Regions from separate parts of the Homo sapiens genome. Here regions 1, 2, 3 and 4 are each linked to region 5. Evidence: promoter capture Hi-C in 16 types of primary human blood cells and fetal thymus (Javierre and others, 2016). All regions are on one chromosome and are shown on one strand. The core of a region is centred on a gene start or on the middle of the fragment in contact, and the rest is flanking DNA. Distances in the headings are between cores, read along the strand shown.

What was found. Contacts are between HindIII fragments. The CHiCAGO score rates a contact against its expected background, and 5 or more counts as called.
Region 1: a fragment that was not itself captured here is called in contact with the fragment with the promoter of CERS6 in region 5 in 2 of 17 cell types (non-activated CD4 T cells and naive B cells); the score reaches 5.8 in non-activated CD4 T cells.
Region 2: a fragment that was not itself captured here is called in contact with the fragment with the promoter of CERS6 in region 5 in 2 of 17 cell types (fetal thymus and activated CD4 T cells); the score reaches 9.2 in fetal thymus.
Region 3: a contact is called between a fragment that was not itself captured here and the fragment with the promoter of CERS6 in region 5, in 9 of 17 cell types (naive B cells, activated CD4 T cells, total B cells and 6 more). The highest score is 10.3, in naive B cells.
Region 4: a contact is called between a fragment that was not itself captured here and the fragment with the promoter of CERS6 in region 5, in 16 of 17 cell types (activated CD4 T cells, naive B cells, fetal thymus and 13 more). The highest score is 15.2, in activated CD4 T cells.

Annotation. Positions count from the first base shown.
Region 1 is chr2:168,615,543-168,619,619 of GRCh38, reverse strand. All of the region lies in intron 3 of CERS6 (ceramide synthase 6), which reads right to left. Among named protein-coding and RNA genes, the nearest start is that of MIR4774, 35 kb to the right of the region's middle. The HindIII fragment of the contact is 788 bases long and covers 1,091-1,878 here.
Region 2 is chr2:168,241,232-168,245,594 of GRCh38, reverse strand. The region is part of intron 1 of STK39 (serine/threonine kinase 39); the gene reads left to right. Among named protein-coding and RNA genes, the nearest start is that of STK39, 4.2 kb to the left of the region's middle. The HindIII fragment of the contact is 5,114 bases long and covers 1-4,363 here.
Region 3 is chr2:168,595,064-168,598,806 of GRCh38, reverse strand. The region is part of intron 3 of CERS6 (ceramide synthase 6); the gene reads right to left. Among named protein-coding and RNA genes, the nearest start is that of MIR4774, 14 kb to the right of the region's middle. The HindIII fragment of the contact is 1,078 bases long and covers 1,251-2,328 here.
Region 4 is chr2:168,665,480-168,669,433 of GRCh38, reverse strand. The region is part of intron 4 of CERS6 (ceramide synthase 6); the gene reads right to left. Among named protein-coding and RNA genes, the nearest start is that of MIR4774, 85 kb to the right of the region's middle. The HindIII fragment of the contact is 1,442 bases long and covers 1,534-2,975 here.
Region 5 is chr2:168,453,556-168,457,784 of GRCh38, reverse strand. It overlaps CERS6 (ceramide synthase 6), which reads right to left and starts at 1,513. Exons shown (of 10, transcript NM_203463.3): 1 at 1,167-1,513. The coding sequence starts at 1,336. LOC102724081 (a long non-coding RNA gene) reads left to right here. Exons shown (of 4, transcript XR_002959433.2): 1 at 1-754. RefSeq lists silencers at 822-881, 1,332-1,461, 1,582-1,671, 1,702-1,921. The HindIII fragment of the contact is 1,842 bases long and covers 68-1,909 here.

The sequences.
Region 1 (4,077 bases), core at 235-2,734, 160 kb before region 5:
GTGATGTTGAGCATTTTTTCCTGTTTGTTGGCCATTTGTATATCTTCTTTTGAGAATTCTCTATTAATGTCCTTAACCCACTTTTTGATGGGATTGTTTGATTTTTTTTTCTTGCTGATTTGTTTGAGTTCTTTTTAGATTCTGGATGTTAGTCCTTTGTCAGATGTATAGATTGCGAAGATTTTCTCCCACTCTGTGGGTGCTCTATTTACTCTGCTGACTTCCTTTTGCCATGCAAAAGTTCTTTAGTTTAATTAAGTCCCAGCCATTTCTCTGTTTTTTCTGCATTTGCTTTTAGGTTCTTGGTCATGAAAAACTTGCTTAAGCCAATGTCTAGAAGGGTTTTTCCAATGTTATCTTCTGGAATTTTTAAGTTTCAGGTCTTAGATTTAAGTCCTTCATCCATCTTGAATTGAGTTTTGTAGATGAGAGATGAGGATCCAGTTTCATTCTCCTACATGTGGCTTCCCAATTATCCCAGCACTATTTGTTGAATAGGGTGTCCTTTCCCCACTTTATGTTTTTGTTTCCTTTGTTGAAGATAAGTTGGCTGTAAGTATTTGGCTTTATTTCTGGTTCTCTGTTCTGTTCCATTGGTCTATGTATCTATTTTTATACCAGTACCATGCTGTTTTGGTGACTATGGCCTTATAGTATAGTTTGAAGCCTCCAGATTTGTTCTTTTGCATAGTCTTGCTTTGGCTATGTAGGCTCTTTTTTGGTTCCATATAAATTTTAGGATTGCTTTTCTAGTTCTGTTAAGAATGATGGTAGTATTTTGATGGAAATTGCACTGAATTTGTAGATTGCTTTTGGCAGTATGGTCATTTTCACAATATTTATTCTACCCACCCATGAGCATGAGATGTGTTTCCATTTGCTTATGTCATCTATGATTTACTTCAGCAGTGTTTTGCAGTTTTCCTTGTAGAGGTCTTTCACCTTCTTGGTTAGATATATTCCTAAGTATTTTATTCTTTTTGCAGCTACTGTAAAAGGGGTTGATTTCTTCATTTGATTCTCCACTTGGTCGCTGTTGGTGTATACGAGAGTTACTGACTTGTGTACATTAATTTTGTATCCAGAAGCTTTGCTGAATTTTTTATCAGTTCTAGGAGCTTTTTGGAGGAGTCTTTAGGGTTTTCCAGGTATATAATCATATCATCAGCAAACAGCCACAGTTTGACTTCCTTGTGACTGATTTGGATGCCTTTTATTTCTTTCTCTTGTCTGATGGCTCTGGCTTGGATTCCAGTACTATGTTGAAGAGAAGTGGTGAAAGTGGGCATCCTTGCCTTGTTCCTGTTTTCAGAGGGAATGCTTTCAACTTTTCCCCATTCAGTATTATTTTGGCTCTGGGTTTATCATAGATGGCTTTTCTTACATTCAGGTATGTCTGCTGAATGCCAATTTTGCTAAGGGTTTTAAACATAAAGCCATGCTGGATTTTGTCAAATGCTTTTTCTTGGTCTATTGAGATGATCGTGTGATTTTTGTTTTTATTCTGTTTATGTGTTGTATCACATTTATTGACTGATGTATGTTAAACCACTCCTGTATCCCTGGTATGAAACTCACTTGATTATGCTGGATTATCTTTTTGACATGTTGTTGGATTTGGTTAGCTAGTACTTTGTTAAGGATTTTTGCATGTATGTTCATCAGGGATATTGGTCTGTAGTTTTCTTTTTTGGTTATGTCCTTTCTTGGTTTTGGTATTAGGGTGACACTGGCTTCACAGAATGATTTAGGGAGAATTCCTTCTTTCTCTACCTTGTGGAATAGAGTCAATAGGATTGGTACCAATCGTACTTTGAATGTCTGGTAGAATTCAGCTGTGAATCCATCTGGTCTTGGACTTTTTTTTGTTGCTAAGCTTTTAATTACCATTTGAATCTCACTGCTTGTTATTGGTCCGTTCAGGGTGTCTAATTCTTCCTGATTTAAGCTAGGAGGGTTGTATCTTTCCAGGAATTTATCTATCTCCTCTAGGTTTTCTGGTTTACGGGTGTAGAGGTGTTTATAGTAGCCTTGAATGATCTTTTGTATTTCTGTAGTGTCAGTTGTAATACCTCCTGTTTCATTTCTAATTGAACTTATTTGGATTTTCTCTCTTCCTTTCTTGGTTAATCTTGCTAATGGTCTATTAATTTTCTTTATCTTTCCAAATAACCAACATTTTATTTCATTTATCTTTTGCAATTTTTTTTGTTTCAATTTCATTTAGTTCTGCTCTGATTCTGGTTATTTCCTTTCTTCTGCTGGGTTTGGGTTTGGTTTGTTCTTGCTACTCCAGTTCCTTGAAGTGTGATCTCAGAATGTCCGTGTGTGCTCTTTCAGACTTTTTGATGTAGGCATTTAGGGCTATGAACCTTCCTCTTAGCACCACCTTTGCTGTATCCCAGAGGTTTTGACAGGTTGAGCCACTATTGTCATTCAGTTTGAAGAATTTTTAAATTTCCGTCTTGATTTCATTTCTGACCCAATGATCATTCAGGAGCAGGTTATTTAATATCCATGTATTTGCATGGTTTTGAAGGTTCCTTTTGGAGTTGATTTCCACTTTTATTCTGCTGTGGTCTCAGAGAATGTTTGATATAATTTCAATTTCCTTAAATTTATTGAGACTTTTGTGGCCTATCATATGGTCTGTCTTGGAGAAGGTTCCATGTGCTGATGAATCAAATGCATATTCTGTGGTTGTTGGGTAGCATGTTGTGTAAATATCTATTAAGTCCATTTGTTCCAGGGTATAGTAAAAATACATTGTTTCTTTGTTGACTTTCTGTCTTGATGACCTGTCTAATGCTGTCAGTGAAGTACTGAAGTCCCCACTATTACTGTGTTGCCATCTATCTCGTTTCTTAGGTCTAGTAGTAACTGTTTATAAATTTGGGAGCTCCAGTGTAAGGTGCATAAATATTTAGAATTGTGACATTTTCCTGTTGGACAAGGCCTTTTATCATTATATAATGTTCCTCTTTGTCTTTTTTAACTGCTGTTGCTTTAAAGTTTGTTTTGTCTAATATAAGAATAGCTACTCCTGCTCGCTTTTGGTGTCCATTTGCATGGAAAGTCTTTTTCCACTCCTTTACCTTAAGTTTATGTGAGTCCTTATGTATTAGGTAAGTCTCTTGAAGGCAGCAATAGTTGGTTGGTGAATTCTTCTCCATTCTGCCATTCCGTATCTTTTAAGTGGAGCACTTAGGCCATTTACATTCAATGTTAGTATTGAGATGTGAGGTACTATTGCATTCATTATGCTATTTATTGCCTGTATACCTTGGATTTTTATTTTTTTTTCCTAAATTGTATTTTTGTTTTATAGATCCTGTGAGATTTATGCTTTAAAGAGGTTCTGTTTTGATGTGTTTCCAGAATTTGTTTCAAAATTTAGAGCTCCTTTTAGCAGTTCCTGAAGTGCTGGCTTGGTAATGGCAAATTCTCTCAGGATTTGTTTGACCGAAAAAGACTGTATCTTTCCTTCATTTGTGAAGCTTAGTTTCACTGGATACAAAACTTTCGGCTGATAATTGTTTTGTTTGAGGAAGCTGAAGATAGGTCTCCAATCCCTTCTAGCTTGTAGGATTTCTGCTGAGAAATCTGCCGTAAATCTGATAGGTTTTCCTTTATAGGTTACCTGGTGCTTTTGCCTCACAGCTCTTAAGATTCTTTCCCTCGTCTTAACTTTAGACTACCTGATGACAGTGTGCCTAGGCGATGATCTTTTTGTGATGAATTTCCCAGATGTTCTTTGTGTGTCTTGTATTTGGATGTCTACGGCTCTAGCAAGGCCAAGGAAGTTTTCCTCGATTATTCTCCCCAATATGTTTTCCAAACTTTTAGATTTCTCTTCTTCCTCAGGAACACCGATTATTCTTAGGTTTGGTCATTTAATGTAATCCCAGATTTCTGGGAGGCTTTGCTCATTTTTTCTTAGTCTTTTTTCTTTGTCTTTGTTGGACTGTGTTAATTCAAAAACCTGTCTTCAAGCTCTGACACTCTTTTTTCTGCTTGTTCGACTCTATTGCTGAGACTTTCCAGAGCATTTTGCATTTCTTTCGTGCATCCAGTATT
Region 2 (4,363 bases), core at 1,002-3,501, 210 kb after region 5:
AGTGCCCATCTTTGTGTACTAAATCTCACTCCGCTTCCAAGGTGAGTGTGAATATTCCTTGAAAAGCCTTCTGCTTCTTTCAAGGCAAAATGCCGTGGTTTCTTCTGCCCCTCTTTTTACAGACCTCATAGCATGTAACCTCATAGTTGTTATTTGCGCAACAAGATCTGAAGGCCTGCTGTGTCCCAAGCATTGCCCCACTTGCTAGCAATATAGAAATTAACAAAAGTGATCCCTGCCCTAAGTTGTTAGGAGACATAGGGAAAGGATCCTATAGGATGTGATGAGTAAGTACTGGGAGAGCCCGAAGGAGGGAGTGACTGCCAGGAAAGAGAAGGAAGCAGAGTATTTCTTAGTAGAGGTCGTAGTTGAGCTGGGTTTTAAGTCTGAGTTTGTAAGGTGCTTAATTATTTCCACTGTTGCCTTCACTAACCAGCTGTGAACTCTGACAGGAAGAGGTGGGCCATAAAAGTTGAATAATGGTATCTGCCACATAATTCTCCATAGAGTCCATAGGATTGGGAGAAGTTATAATCAATTTATATACCTACTTGGTCAATTATTAGGGTTAAAATACAAACGTTGCCTTTTGAAAACAGTATTTTTTTGTGAACTAATAAAATCTTAGTTTAAGTTGAGTGGGATTAATGGCAGGACTTCTTTCTGTTTGCAGTCCCAGCAGTGTTAATTATGGTTGGTCAGTTTAGTGGAAAAAAAGAAATTTACCTGAGGAATTTGAGAACAAAAACACCTGCTTATTCTACCCTGACTTTTGCGCATTTGCATTGTGGGAAGGGCTTTTCTACATTTAAAGTTTATCTCATATTTTCCCAACTAAAAGAGAAAGAGTTGGCCTGTGTGGAGGCCCTGTTATTGAAAAATCAAATTGCTGGAATAGGTTTTTCGCAAGGGCTTAATGTTTATAAGGAATTACAAACCTGTTTCCATTTAGGGTTTAATGCTAGTTGAGAGATTAAGACTGAACTTGTGGTTAAGCACTTTTGCTTAAACATTACACGCAGAAGTTAGCAGTTCAAACACTGAACCAGTTTCAACATGAATGCCAGTTGACAGCCTTTGCTTCTACCCGCCATACGGCAGGTGTCATATGATATGACTCCAGCAGTGTGAACCGTGACCAGCAGCAGGAGGCTCAGATGTGCCTGAACAGAAAACCAAAGGAGGCACCGTGTTTTAACTTTCCAGCATGGCACGGGCACGGAGGACTTTTTCTTCATTTCCTTCTGGGCAGAGTTTGGTCCCCCAGGATTAAGAGAGAATAAGTTTACTAAAATCCAAACAAAGCAGGTTCAGTTGTTTGACTTCAGTTTTAGAAAAATAAACACAGGATTTTGCAAACCTAAAAATAAAGTTTTCTCTTTATTGTATTGTTGTTCTTGTGTTTTAAAACGTCAGTGGAGAAATTGTAATGCTCTTAGGAGTATTCTGGTTCATAAGTTTATTCATGACCTGGAAATGATGTAAAATCGATGGGAGGGAGCTTTATATTTACAGAGGGGTTAAAAATGTTGGAAATTATTAAATTCCTTCTTCCAGACATTGATATCCTTGTCTTAGTAGATTTCAAATATTTCTGTCTTTTTGGAGGCTTTCCGACCTGTTTATACTCTTCAGCCTTGTTAATCTTTGTTCCTTACCTCTCTAAAGAAGGAATTTGGGGGTGAGTTGAGCCCCCAAAAGTAGGTACCCCTACCTTTAGAAGTATAAGGGGCACTTAAAGCTATGCCAGTTGAAAACTTAGTTTATTTGTTGGGGGTGTTAATAATATTACCTAGATTTGCTAAACAGGGAATGAAAGTGAATCATATAAGTGTTTACTTGGCCATCCGTAATGGAATGGAGCAGCCTCAATGAACTTCTCATTCAAAGAATTGTAGTCATTGAAGTACTAATTTCTGTATTTGAATTAGGTGATTCCAGCAATGTTGTTATCTTTGCTGAATTTCTTCTGAGAAACCCTAGACTCCTGCCTCAGCAGGAGTTTGTTTGATTTTCTTAGGGTTTTTGCAGGATGCACCTTTCTTTATGTAGTTTTATACTAGATTTCTCAGCATTGCTTCACTTTTGTCCCGGGTGGTCATTTAGAATGACCTAAAAGTAACAAATTGCCATCTTAGTCAACACGAAGAATTTGAGTTCTAGAATCCTGGACATGGTTTGACAGAGGGTTCCTTTGAATGCTTTATTTCTCTCCTGTGAGGCATTGTTTATCCATTCAGGTGCGTTTTACTCAGGTCCAGGTAATAGCACATATGGCCAGGTCTTTAAGGAGCAACAGCCTCTTGTAAAATGAGATTGTAAATAGCCCTGGGCATTCCCACTTTGCTCTGTGCTCTCAGAGTTTCTGTGGATTTCTATGGTTTGGGGGTTAGAATTGGTTTTTATAGATATCCTAGAGGCAGTTTGAGGACAGTGGTACCTTCGCTGGCGCTAGGGTAAGGGAGCCGGAGCACTGAGTGTGTTCTGATCTCCCAGACCTTTATACCAGGCTGCCTTGCTGCTGCAGTGGGTTCTTTGATCTTGATTAGTTTGTTTGTTGTTGTTTTTAAAATACTAAATGATGTCTGAAATGCTTTGTCTCAAGACAGGGCTTTGATTTTCATTTCATTTCACTTTCTTTTTTAATAAATAGAAAAATGTATATAGAAATGTTCTTTTGTATTTTGTATTTTTTTTTTTTTGATAAAGGGTCTCACTCTGTCACCCAGGCTAGAGTGCAGTGGTGCAATCATACCTCACTGCAGCCTCGAACTCTTGGGCTCAAGTGATCTTCCCACATCAGCCTCCTGAGTAGCTGGGTCTATAGGTGCAAACCATCATGCCTGCCTAATTTTTTTTTTCTTTTTTTATTTTTAAGAAATGGGGGTCTCACTATGTTGCCCAAGCTGCTCTTGAACTCCTCCGCTCAGCGATGCTCCGGCCTTGGCTTCCCAATGTGTTGGGATTACAGGCGTGAGCCACTGTGCCTGGCCTCTTTATATATATATATATATATATATATATATATATATATTTTTTTTTTTTTTTGTAAGAGTCTTGCTCTGTTGCCTGGGCTAGATTGCAGTGGCGCCATCTCAGTTCACTGCAGCCTCTGCCTCCTAGGTCCAAGCAGTTCTCCTGCCTCAGCCTCCCGAGTAGCTAGTATTACAGGCCTGGCTAATTTTTGTATTTTTTGATAGAAACAGGGTTTCACCATGTTGGCCAGGCTGGTCACAAACTCCTGGTCTGAAGTAACCCGCCTGCCTCAGCCTCCCAAGTTGCTGGGATTACAGCGTGAGTCACTGTGCCCGGCCTCTTTTGTATTATTTTTATTGTGGTAAAATATACACAACAAAAATTGTACCATTTTAACCGTTCTTAAAGTGTGCAATTCAGTAGCATTAATTATATTTACAAGATAAATACTCTTTTAAATGTGCTGTCATGGGGCTGGGGGGAGAGATCTCAAGATCTCTCTTGAAACTGTGGTAAAGTGACTGCAATCCTTTATTTATGCATTTGATTTTTAACTAGTGATATTATGAATTCTTCCCTGACTTTTATGGTTTATTGTATAGTACATTTTGTGATGGTGTTTGAAAATAAGTTGCAGCAGTGCCGGCTCTGGAGTCTGACAGCCTGGCCTGTTTCATGTCCTGCAATGGCGGTCACTGACGCTGCGACCTTGAGCAAATGACTTAGATGTGTCTGCACTCAGTTTCCTCATTGGTAACATAGGGATGATAAAAATAGGGTTGTGAGGAATGAGAGAATGTAAAGCACTGAGAATCGTGCCTGGCACACAGCATGCTTTCAATTAGTCTTAGCCATAACTTCTATAGACTTCATTTGCTAATCAGATGCAAGTTATCAGGAGAGAACACAGTCCTATCTTTGGCAGGATTCTGGAGTGGCTTGAAGATTTCTGTGCTATGTTTCTAGCAGGGAGGAAGTGGGAAAGAGAGGTTGTTCCCTATTCCCACTCTTGTGCTGGGCTGCTGGAAGGGGCTTACAAGGGGAGAGGCCCCTGGGGATCTGGCTTCCCCTTGCACCTCCACTGCTGTGGGAGGAAACTGAAGAGACCTGTGGAGCTCCTGGCAATTTGGACAGCTCAGGGGTTTAGGTGCCAAATGGCCCTCTGACAAGTGATGAGAGCATCCTGCGGGAAGGTTGCTGAAGAGGAGCAGCCCATTATGAGAGGGCTCCGAGAACAACCTGCTAGGACTGCACTTTTCCTCCACCTCTGAGTTTGCCCGGAGGCTGCCATGCTGGCAGGAAATGCTGCTGACTAAAAGAAACGCTCCCTGTGTGTCCCAGCCAGTGCGAGGACAGAGGCCTTCATTTTCAGATAAAGTCATCACCA
Region 3 (3,743 bases), core at 540-3,039, 140 kb before region 5:
ATTGTTCTATGTTGTATCACCGCAATATTTGACACCACTTTAAACAAATTAAGATTAAAAAAAGATTAAGGGATAGCTCTATATTGCAGAAGTGAAGATTGAAGACAATCTTGTAAGCTACGTTATTAAATTTTCTTTCTGTACTGGTTGGGGAATTGGGACCTTTTTTTTCACTAATCCTGTAGTTTTATTAGATATGATGGCATTATATTCTTGGATTGCCACATATTAATCATTTAGGGTTTACGAGTACCATGTGATAATCATTAGGCTATTTAAATTTCCCATATTCCAGTAAACCACTATTTTTTTGCCCCTTGCCATTATTTTTTTTTACCATCAAAAATATATAGGAATGCATAACAAGGAAATAAATAATTTGGCCAGTAGATGTGGAAAAGAAAAAAAAAAGAAAACTCTCTGGTTAATTACTATGCCACGTATAAACTGAAGATATGTTTTCTCTTCCCCCCAAAAACGAGGTTGCCATATATTCAAGTCATTACAGTCTCTTATTTATAGACTACTCTCTCAAGCACTTTATTTAGAACAAAGAAGTATTCCTTGAAGACACTCAAATCTGAAACAACTTCAATCAATGCCAGTTTGAGATGCTCAAGAAGGTCAGCTGATGGAAGCAGCTATTCTAAGGGAGCAAAGAAATTTAACAAATACTTAAGGCATTATCTCTAGGGTGGTGACTTCATAATTGTTTGTATTAGATATCACTGTAAACAAACCTTTTAAAGATCCCTCTTAAGGGGAGGACAGAAAAGAGTTACACGTGGAAGATCCTCAACATACACCTATAGATAAAGGACAAAAAAAAGTCTGAAAGAGAGGCAAAGAGTGCTAAGGCCTGAGTTAACATTTACAGAAATAACTTCTTACATGGATTCCAAACACATTAAAGTCTATGCAATTTAGACGGGAGGGAAGAGAAGGCACTCTGGCACACTGTCCTAGATGACTCTGAGGTAGCTCCTCTGACAAAGACATGATGTCAAAGGTGCAAATACAGGCTTTGAATAAATTATTTCATGAAAGTAAATAGGAAAAGCATTATGTCTAAATAAACATATTAATGTTATTAATATACATATCAATTGTTTCATCTCTAAAACTTTACATATTCAAGGTGGCCCCAGAATATTTTGTATCATTGGGAAACTGGAGGATGTGTCTTATAGCTAAGGGCACCCTACCTTCAACCATCTATGGTTATCTGGGAATTGAAAAAAGTAGAAGCTTGTATGGCAGATGCACCTGACGGCAATATCTTAAGCATACCCTGAGAATGACCCTGTAAGGCAGACACACCTGAATGTGTCTTCAGAGTTCTGAGCTAAGGAATCCGGGAGTGGTCATCCGACAGATTCATTACTTATTTATGTGGAACATCTGAACCCCTGGCCTGTCCATGGAATGAGAGTGTGCAGGGGAAAGATCCTCTTTGTTTTGGATTAAGTGGAGGTTGCCAGGCAGAGGTTGTTAGAGGGTGCTTTAAATATTATATAAATTGTATACTTTTTACAAGCATGCAATTTATATAATAAATAATGCTCTACTGTCAAGCCTGCTGCCACCAGACTGTCCCTGTATGTAAGTTCCCTCCAATAAAACCCTATGTCTTGTTCACTGGCTCCAGGTCTCTTCTTCAGCCTCAAACCTGGCGCCATCCCTACTGAAGTCAATAGGGGCCTGACACGACAAAGCTAAACTCATAGCAGTGTGAAAGTGAGTCAGAGATTAGTCAGAATATTGACTTCAATGTTCACCAATTGGAGTTCAAGAAGCAGGAAAGACGCCATGAACACAGTATTGTATTTTTAGAGAGAATAGGTAGAGTATATGCACTTTTGCTACAATAAAAGGATTCTTGAATTCAGTTTATATTAGAGCAAACAAAAAGTTTCATGAACTCTAAGAGCATTTGCTCTTAACTCCAAATTTTGTGCATCAACAAAGGGATGGGAGCCGGGCATGGTGGTTCACACCTGTAATTCCAGCACTTTGGGACGCCAAGCGTTCATGATCAGCCTGGCCAACATGGTGAAACCCCATCTCTATTAAAAACACCAACAAATTTGCCGGGTATGGTGGCACGCACCTGTAATCCCAGCTACTCGGGAAGCTGAGGCAGGAGAACCACTTGAACCAGGGAGGTGGAAGTTACAGTGAGCCAAGATTGCACTACTACACTCTAGTTTGGATGATAGAGTGAGACTCAGTCTCAAAAAAAAAAAAAAAAGGGGGGGGGATGGGGCCCTGAAACAATGATTTAATGAATGAAGGCAAGTAAAAAAGCCACTGTACTGAATATAAGCTTTTCTTTTAATCTCACATTTTCCCACTCATGTTACGTTCTGCCAAAGCCATTCATCTACATTTCCCTGAACAATTTCTGGAAGGAGGCTGGGAAGCCCAGTAAAAACTACACCAAGAAGACAACAACCCCTCCCCCCAATCCCCCGCCCACACACATAATCTGGTCTCCACCCTATTGAGGTCCCATTCCACATGACCCTGTGATCAGCAATAAACTTGGTACCCTCAATAAGATCCAAAACCAAAGCCACTCATCTTATAACCACAGAACCTCTTCTCTTTGTGGTTCATGACTAGGATCCAAGTCTACTAGCCAGATGCATAAACATTTACAAACAAATATTGAATTTTGGCAGTTTAATGATAATTTTTATTTTTATCCTTTTTTTTTTTTTTGAGACAGGGTCTCGCTTTGTTGCCCAGGCTGGTCTTGAACTCCTGGGCTCACATGATCCTCCTGCCTTGGCCTCCCAAAGTGCTGGAATTACAGGCGTGAGCCACCACGCCTGGCCTAATAATAATTTTTAACGTCTTGCCAATTTGGGCACCTTTCCTTTACATCTGGAAGAAAATATGAAGTCCGCTTAAGTCTACTTACATTGAACAATAAGGTCTGCCAAAAAGAAAAAAAACATACAATTCTTCTTTTTGATCTCCACAAATCTTAAATAACTATGTAAACAGCAACATAACTTTTTTCCAATTATAAGGCAATATTCATGTGAGTCAAACATTAGATGTTATTTGATGTCTGTATAAAGACAAGGTAAAGATGATATCAATTCAAACCATTACAATTTGCTGCAATACATCTGAATGTATAATGAAAATGTTAAATGAGAGATACTCTTCGTAAGTACCATCAGCCTTAAATTTAAGTTTACATTTTAATGCTGTCACTAAAATCAGCCAATTAAAATTGGTATTATACATAATCCAATGTAAGGAGATTCAGGATTAAAAAAGAGAATAAAGAGATAAAGGAATGAATGCAATTGTGGTATTTATACCTTTTCTTTCAATCATTGATTTTTACACTCCCCAAAGTGTCTCAACATTCAATCTAACCTTGGTCCAAGAACTCTCAAGCAAAAACCACATGAAAGGGAAGTGTGGGCTAAAAGCTCAGACTAAACAATAAATAATACTTTCTTCAGACTGAAAATATTCTCCCAAACATCTCACCATCTGAAAGTCAGGAGCTGGGAGTGGAATTATTCTGTAGCACTGCATAGGATACATGTGCTCCTTGTCCTCTTATGTAATGCTTCCCCCAGTAAAAGCCACAGAAATTGGGCCCTGCAAACTTTTTTAAAAGCAACCATGAACTGCTTTGAGTGTTAGGGTGCTTCTGTCTCTTCAAGACAGAGGGCTAAACTCCAATAGAGGACAATGGTCACTTTCCTTCATGATGC
Region 4 (3,954 bases), core at 1,005-3,504, 210 kb before region 5:
AGATGACAATTCTCAGCCTTCTTGCAGTTAGATAGGGCCCTGTGACTCAGTTCTGGTCTATGAAGTGAAAATGGTGTGTGGAATGTCCATAAAGGCTGTTTAACAAGAGATGACTTAGCTGGATAACAACTTTTTAGCTATCTACCTTTTCCTCCTTTTGGGGAATTGTTTCATTGATGTGCTGGCTGGAGTTCCAGCAGCCATCTTGCACCAGGAAATAATCTGGAAGATAGAAGCTGTGTACCAATGTGGTAGAGCATAAAGACAGAGAGTCCCCATATCCTTAATAACATAATGGAACCATCATATCAGACTTCAGACTTCTTTAACATGAGAAATAAACTTTTTTCTTGTTTAAGCCACTATGACTGATTGACTGTTAGGTGTTCCAGACCTAATCCTAACTAATGTACTAGAGAGGAACAGCGAGGGACATACAAAGTCAGATAAAGATTTCAATGGTTTACAGTACCCATCCTGTGAATTTCTAATGCACTGACATTTTCCCCCAATATCTCAAAAGTCATGCATATGTATAATTCTAGCATATAAAAAAAATCTAATAACATTTCAGCCCCATATGCTGAAGCAATAAAGTAAAATAATTCACCTGAGCTCTGTATACTAAATAATAATTAGCATAGTTTAATACTTCTAAATTGATAAAAGATTAGAGTTGCAGCCTGGCATGGTGGCTCACAGCTGTAATCCCAGCACTGTGGGAGGCCGAGGTGGGCAGATTACCTGAGGTCAGGAGTTCGGGACCAGCCTAGCCAACACGGTGAAACCCCATCTCTACTAAAAAAATTAAGAAAAATAATTGGCTGGGCACGGTGGCAGGTACCTGTAATCCCAGCTACTCGTGAGACTGAGGCAGGAGAATTGCTTGATCTCAGGAGGCAGAGGCTGCAGTGAGTACAGATTATGCCACTGAACTCCAGCCTGGGCGACAGAATGAGACTCTGTCTCCAGAAAAAAAAAAAAAAAAAGATAGAGTTGGAAATGGAGTGCAAGCAATGAACTAAAGCTCCATTCACAGAAGGACTCCTTAGGACATGCTGTCTTGTTGACCATGGAATAATGGATAAAGAGGAGGTAAATATGATCCCAAGATCTCTAGCTTGGGTGACTGCTGCAGATGGTGAGACCATAAATAAGATGAGGAAAATCAGAGTAGGAATAATGGGGTTAGGAAAGAGAATGAGTTTGGTTTTGTCATTGAAGAACATTTGAGATTACCTATGGGATACAATGCAAAGTCAAGAAGAAAATCAGAAAAGAGGCTGGTAATCCAGGTTCACTTGTTCTTCTGCATTTGAAAAACATCTGTTGATTCCACACCAATTACTCAATAAAGCCCGGGCTCCTTATCATGATTTCAACCTCAAATCGATTTACAACTTACGATCTGCCCTCCACCTACTTTTTCAGATTTGTCTGTTAACATCTCTGTCTCTGCCTACAAGGCCCCACCAAATACAAATATTATGCTCAAGTCACACATGACTGTTCAGAGGTTCCCCCAAACAAGCTTCACAGAAGGTCCCTCCATGCATATTTCTTTCACAATATGTATCCATTTTACTTTAAATATCTGTTCACCTGTCTGCCTCCCATACTAGACAGAACTATTTGAAGGTCTAGCCTATTATCTTGGATGTAGTAAATTAAAACTGATAAGCACACCAATACTTAATTAACGGAGGCTCACACCCGATACCTGTATTTTTGCTTCCTCCATTTTCCTTATCTGGAACACAGAAAGGAATCAATGATGACTCCGAGTTGTCAGGGCTGGGTGAATAATGCAGTAGTGTCATCCATTAGAGAGAACATATTTAAAAAAAAAGATAGAAAAAAAGCCGCCTAATAGCCAACAGAAGCAGAGAGCTTTATATAAGAAAAGAGGAACAAATGCACTCAAGTCTCTGATAACTTTTATTTCATGTGACAAAACATATCGAGTGCAGAATTGATAGCTCACATTTGGTAAAGGCAGGCAGGAGAGTGTGACATGGAAGAAGGCTCAAGAGGCAGGGCTGGGCTTGGGTGGATAAAGAAAAGCACTACAGGAAACCTCTCTAAGCCACCAGAACACAATGGCCACTTTACCTATAAAACAGAACTGAGATGCTGTGCTACTTGTTCACCCTCGCCTGTGCAAGAAACTGACAAAGTGCACGGGCAGATAAGATCTGGGGTTTTCCTGCTTAAAGGTTTTCTAAATGTCACTAGGACAGCATGGAACATCCACCTGTTAAACACAGAAAATCCCAATCCGAAATATATTGCTTTGCTTAATTTATAATGAAAAGAAAAAATAAAATAATGACAAGCTATAGTGTAGAAAACAGAGGAGCCTTATCCATGTCATATGTGAAAACTTTTGCCAGCTTTTTGTGACATAAATCTTATTTTTGGTGAGAATTAACAAAGATTATCAAATGTATGTAGATTACCTCTTAACTGGCATGATATAGCACAATATAAACACAAGATATGCATTATTAATATTATGACATGCTGACAGCATGAGAACTCGTTTGAGCCCTTGAGAAACAGTGTCTTCTTAGTTTATGAATATCTCAGGCCTTTTATACACAGCATTGGAATATGGTTTTAGGAGACTCCAAGAGAGGAGAACCTGAAAAAGGAAACGTGGCACCACTCATGCATGCCTCACTCAAATTTAAACTGCTTCTCAATGTGGGTTCTCAATGCAGGCCCTTTATAAAGACACAGTGAAAATGAATATTGTTTGACCTAGCAATCACACTCCTTGGTATTTATCCAAATGAACTGAAGACTCACGCCCACATGAAAACATTCACATAAATGTTTATACCAAAATATTGAAGCAACCAAGATGTCTGTCAGATGAATACACTGTGGTATATACACACAATGGAATATGATTCAGAGGTAAGAAGAAAAGAAGTGAGCCATCAAACCACAAAACAGACATGGAAGAAGCTTAAATGCATACTACTAAGTGAAAGAGGCCAATCTGAAAAGTCTACATATTGTATGATTCCAATTATATGACATTCTGAAAAAGGTAAAACTTTGGAGAAAGTAAGAAGATGAGTGGTTGCCAGGTCTAGGGAGGAAGGAAGGGATGAACAGGCAGAGAAGAAAATTTTTAAGGCAACAATGCTACTCTCCATGACAGTGTAATGGTGGATGCATGTCATTATACATTTGTCCAGATCCATAGAATATACAACACTAAGAGTGAACCTTAATGTAAACTATGCACTTTAGCCAACAATAGTGTTTTAATATTGGCTCATCAACTGTAACAAAAGTACCACTAATAATGCAAGATGTAAATAAAAGGGAAAACTGGGGAGTGCAGGGGTCAGGGGGTGATGATGGCAGGGTGAAGGGTATATGGGAATACTCCATATTTTCCATTCAATTTTTCTCTAAACCTAAAACTACACACACACACACACACACACACACACACACACACACAGTCTACTAATTTTTTAAAAAAATTCTTAAAACCTCCAAGTTATTTAATAACATCACTTTGCCAACAGAAAATGTGAGCAGCTTGGAAGATAATATGCCATAATAATTCAGAGTATATAACTTCTTGAGCTAGACCTCTTGGGCTCAAACTGTAGTTCGTTCACTTACTAGTTGCATAATCTTGTTTTATTTCAGTGAGAGTTTACTGACTACTGTATGTCAGTCACTGTTGTAGGTATGTAGTATACAGCAGTGAACATGTAAAGATACTTGGCCTCACAGAGCTTCTATTTTACTGTGCAGAGCAGGCAAAATAAATCAACAGATAAATACAGTAAGAGAGAAGGTGATGAGCATGTTGGAAAAATGAAAATGAAGAGAAGGTTAAGGGGGAGATTAGGTTACTAGGGAGGGCTGGGGAGTATTTCCTCATCTGTTAATGAGAGATACAATAGTTCCCACCATCCGAGGGTG
Region 5 (4,229 bases), core at 264-2,763:
CGTTCTGCCACCCTCAACAGTCGTTTTCAGGCAAAGAGGAACAGCAAATGAGGTACCAGCAAAAGCTTAAGAAACAAAACCAAGGTGAGTTGAAGGCGGGGAAGAAAGGCGGAGTGGAAGCGAGAAATGCAATCTAAACTCTACTTTGTGATCTAAGAAATTCAGCCTTTACTGATGAATTGGGCAGAGGAAGGGGAGGGTACAAGAAAGGGGAAGATAATATTTTCTGTTACGAAAAAAAAAGTGTGCTGCTGTCCTGGTTTTCTTTCAGTAGCACCCAGAGAATGCATGGCAGGCACAATCTAGTTTCGCGACGAAAACGAATTCCATGAGAATAACACAAGTTTGTATGTGACACAATGGAGATATCCAACCAAACCGAGGAACTATACAATTGCATGACAATTCCTCAAAATTTTAAGTGCCTTCGAGTACCAAAAAAGAAGTTTATGATTATTCACAGGACAGGGTTATCAGTTTAATATCACCATTTTGCAGGATGTGGACCCGTCCTGTCACATCCTCTTTTAAAGAAACCGCTAATAACCTGAAATGCTATTATCCCCTATTTGCCAGGACTGTGGGCCTGATAGTTTCACGGATAAAAACCAAACAGCGACCAGAAGCCAGGAAGTCCCTGGCGAATTCTTTTGAAGCACAACCCCTACAATCCGTGTGCCGGAGCATAAAGATTGAAGTGTGCGCGGTTCCTCCTCCCTCCGGGCCGCGCGTCCGGAACGTTCCTGGCTGTCAGGTGGGTGGCGCGGGCCCCGGCGGGAAGCCCTGCCTGGCAGCCTTGCGTGGCGCGCCGGCGGAGAGGGGCGAGCCCCGCGGAATGCGGCGGGTCCTGAGCCCGACCACCGCTCACCTTTGTTCGCCTGCCCTTGCCGGGAGGAGAGCAGGGCCCAGGAGGAGGGCAGGGGGCGACCCTAACGCTCCGCGGCTCCTCCCCGGCGCCCGGGAGGAAATCCGTGGCAAGCCAGACCCTTTCTGGCTCCCAGAAAGCCAGCGGGGCAGGGGGGTCAGCAACCCCTCCCCGAACACAAAGGTTGGGAGGCGTGAACGCGAGCGTTGGGGGCGCGGGGGCGTGCGCCAGAGAGCGCGCGAGTGTGTGCGCGCGTGTGTGTGCGCAGGGGGAGGGGAGGAGGGGCTTCAGCCCTTCTTACCTCTCGAAGATGAGCCGCACCATGAAGATACAGAAGGCCAGGGGAAAAGCGAGATAGAGGTCCTCAGCCTGCGGGAAGGTGGCCTCCTCCGTGTTCTTCAGGTCCGCCCAGGTGACATTGTGCGGGAGCCAAAACCTCTCGTTCCAGAACCAGGCTAAGATCCCTGCCATCTTGCTTTGTCCACTCCTGTCCTGCGGCACCCGCAGCCCGCCAAGCTCTCCACCGCGCAGGGCGCCCGGGGATGCGCGCCCGGCTGGCCCCGAGCCTGTGCCGCCGCCGCCGCTGCTCCCGCCCGCCGCCGCCGCCTCCTCCGCGGCCGCTGCTCTCGAAGGCTCGCGGCGAGCCCCGGTTCTCTCCTCCCTCTGGCCGCGCTGGGGAAAGGGGCCGCCTTGCCCGTCACATGGCAGCTCGGGCCGCCCGCCCTGATTGGCTCGTCTTCGCGTCAAACAGCGAGGCACACACGCGGCCAACTCGCCCACACCCGCAGGGCAGGGCGCAGTCGCTGCGCCCTGGGCGCAGGGGCACCGCTCCGGGGAGTGTCGCCCGCCCCTGCTCTCACCGCTCTTTCGCTTTGCGCTTAGGGCGACGACCTAAAGTCGACCCCCCAAATCCGCCCTAGCCCCCTGGCTGGCTCGCACATGCTCAGAATGCTGGCTCCTGCCCCGCTGGGGTTTCAGGGCTCTCAGTCCTCTTCCCGTGCGCCCGGAGGCGGTGGGTCAGCAGGTAGGGGCTGCCGCCAAGCTTCAGAACCAGCCCTGCTCCAGGAGGACAGCAAAAAAAAAAAAAGGGGGGGGGAGGGGGAGGGGTAAAGAGCAAAGGAGGAAGTGGGAGGGAAAGGATCCTCCACTCCCGCGCTTGGAGAGGCAGGGTGAAAAATCAGGAACTGAGGCAGGATGGTTTGGCAAGAGCCTTCTGCCTCTGCCCCACGCCTGCCTTTCCCCAATCTTTGACTTTCCGGTCTTTTATACTGCTGCTTCTCATCAAAGTAGCTCCCCCAGGGAACAAGCCCCCCTATATTGATTTATGAGGTGGTACAAAAAATTAGGCACTTAATTGCTATTTGATTATTAATTGCTACTTGATGACGATGATGATGATGATGATGATGATGATAGCAACTGCAGCGTTCTGTAAAACCACCCCTCTCAACTAACCTCTCTGAAAAGGCTGCTAGACCACATTTTGACCTGGCACATCATGAGAACCTCCACTGTGCTACTCGGCAGGCTCATTATTTCTGCCTTTTGAATCTAAAACCTTTAAGGCATTAGGCCTGTGAGGCCTAACCCAGGCACCTTCCCTCCCGCAATGCATTTCCCCATTGATACAGGAGCCATGTGTGAATTCATTCCATGGCCCATGTATACATGGTTCTGGGGCATTTTTGTTCATTTTTCTCACATTCATTTTCTGCCTGGTGCTGCCAGTAGGCTATACTAAACCTTTCCAGTGGGCATATAACCGCACACACACACACACACACACACACAGAGAGAGGGAGTTTCTTTTACTCTTCCCTCCCCTCTTTCCACTCTATCTCTTGAAAGTGAAACTGAAGAATGGCCTATACTGGTGCTTCCAATTTCTCTCCCCTCATTTTCTTTTGAACTTCCATTTGGACATTTGTCTCCTCTGCTGCATTGAAACTGCCCAAGGTCACCTGTGATCTTCATGCTGCTAAACACAAAGGTCAGTTCTTATCTTAGTCCAGGCTGCTTAGACTAGGTGGCTTAAACAGCAGAATTTATTCCTCACGGTTCTGGAGGCAGGGAAGTCCAAGATCAACATGCAGGCAGATCCAGTGTCTGGCAAGGATCCTCTTCCTGGTTTGAAAACAGCTGTTTTCTTGTGTATCCTCACATGGCAGAGAGCACAGAAAGAGGAAACACAGATTAGTGCCCTATCTTCTTATAAGGGCACTAATCCCATTCATGAAGGTTCTACCCTCATTAGCTAATTACCTCCCAAAGACTCTGTCTCTGAATACTATCACATTGGGAACTAGGATTTCAGCATATGAATTTTGGGGGACACACACATTCAGTTCATAGCAGTTCACAACACCTCTGTCAGTAGCATTTGGCCCAGTTGTCAGGTCGTGTGTCTTAAAACATTCTTGACTTGGCTTCCAGAAACCTCACTCTTCTGGGTTTCTTCCTCCTTCATGGCCATTTCTTCTCAGTCTCCTTCCTGGTTACTCCTCACTTTTCTAACCCCTAGAAGTTATAGTGGCCTAGGAGTCAGTCTTTTTTCCTCTTCACTTTTCTATCTGAATGTATTCATTTGGTGATTTTATCCAGTCTCGTGGCTTTTAATGACATCTGTATGCCCTCCAATGTCATGCTAATAGCTCCCATATTTATATCTCTAGCCATGAACTTTTTCCTGACCTTCTGACTCTTAAATCCACTGGCAATTTAACACCACCACTCAGATGTCTAAAAGCTATCTCATGACCAAACTATTAATCTTCCCCTTGAAATCTCTTCCTCCTGTAGTCTTGGCTCAAGCCAAAAATGTGGAGTCATTTTTTCCCCTTCTCTCTTTCTCTCATACCTCCTTTCCAATCCATCCCAAATCCCATCAGCACCATTTTAAAACCATAATCTCACCATCTCTCACCACCTCCCCTGCTACCATCTTGGTCCAAACAACCAATACTTCTAATTCACATTACTCCAGTAACCTCCCAACTCCCAGTTTCACCCTTTGCCCCTCTACAGTCTATTCTCAGCCAGTGTGATCCTATGCAAATTTGTCAGATCACCCCTGGGGTGAAAACCCTGCTTCTTCCTCATCCCTCCCAAGTGAAAGCCAAATTATTCCAATGACCTGTGATATTTGGTTCCGTATTAACTCTGACTTATTTACTCTTCTCTCTCCTTCACTCTGCCTGAGTCCACACTGGCCACCCTGCCCTTACTGGGACACACCAGCTATGTCTTAGAGCCTTTGTGCTTGCTCTTCTCTGTCCCTGGAACTCTTTTTACACGAACATCCATGTTTGCTCTGTACTGATGTCATTTTCTCCCTGAAGCCTTCCCTGGCCACCCTAGTTAATCT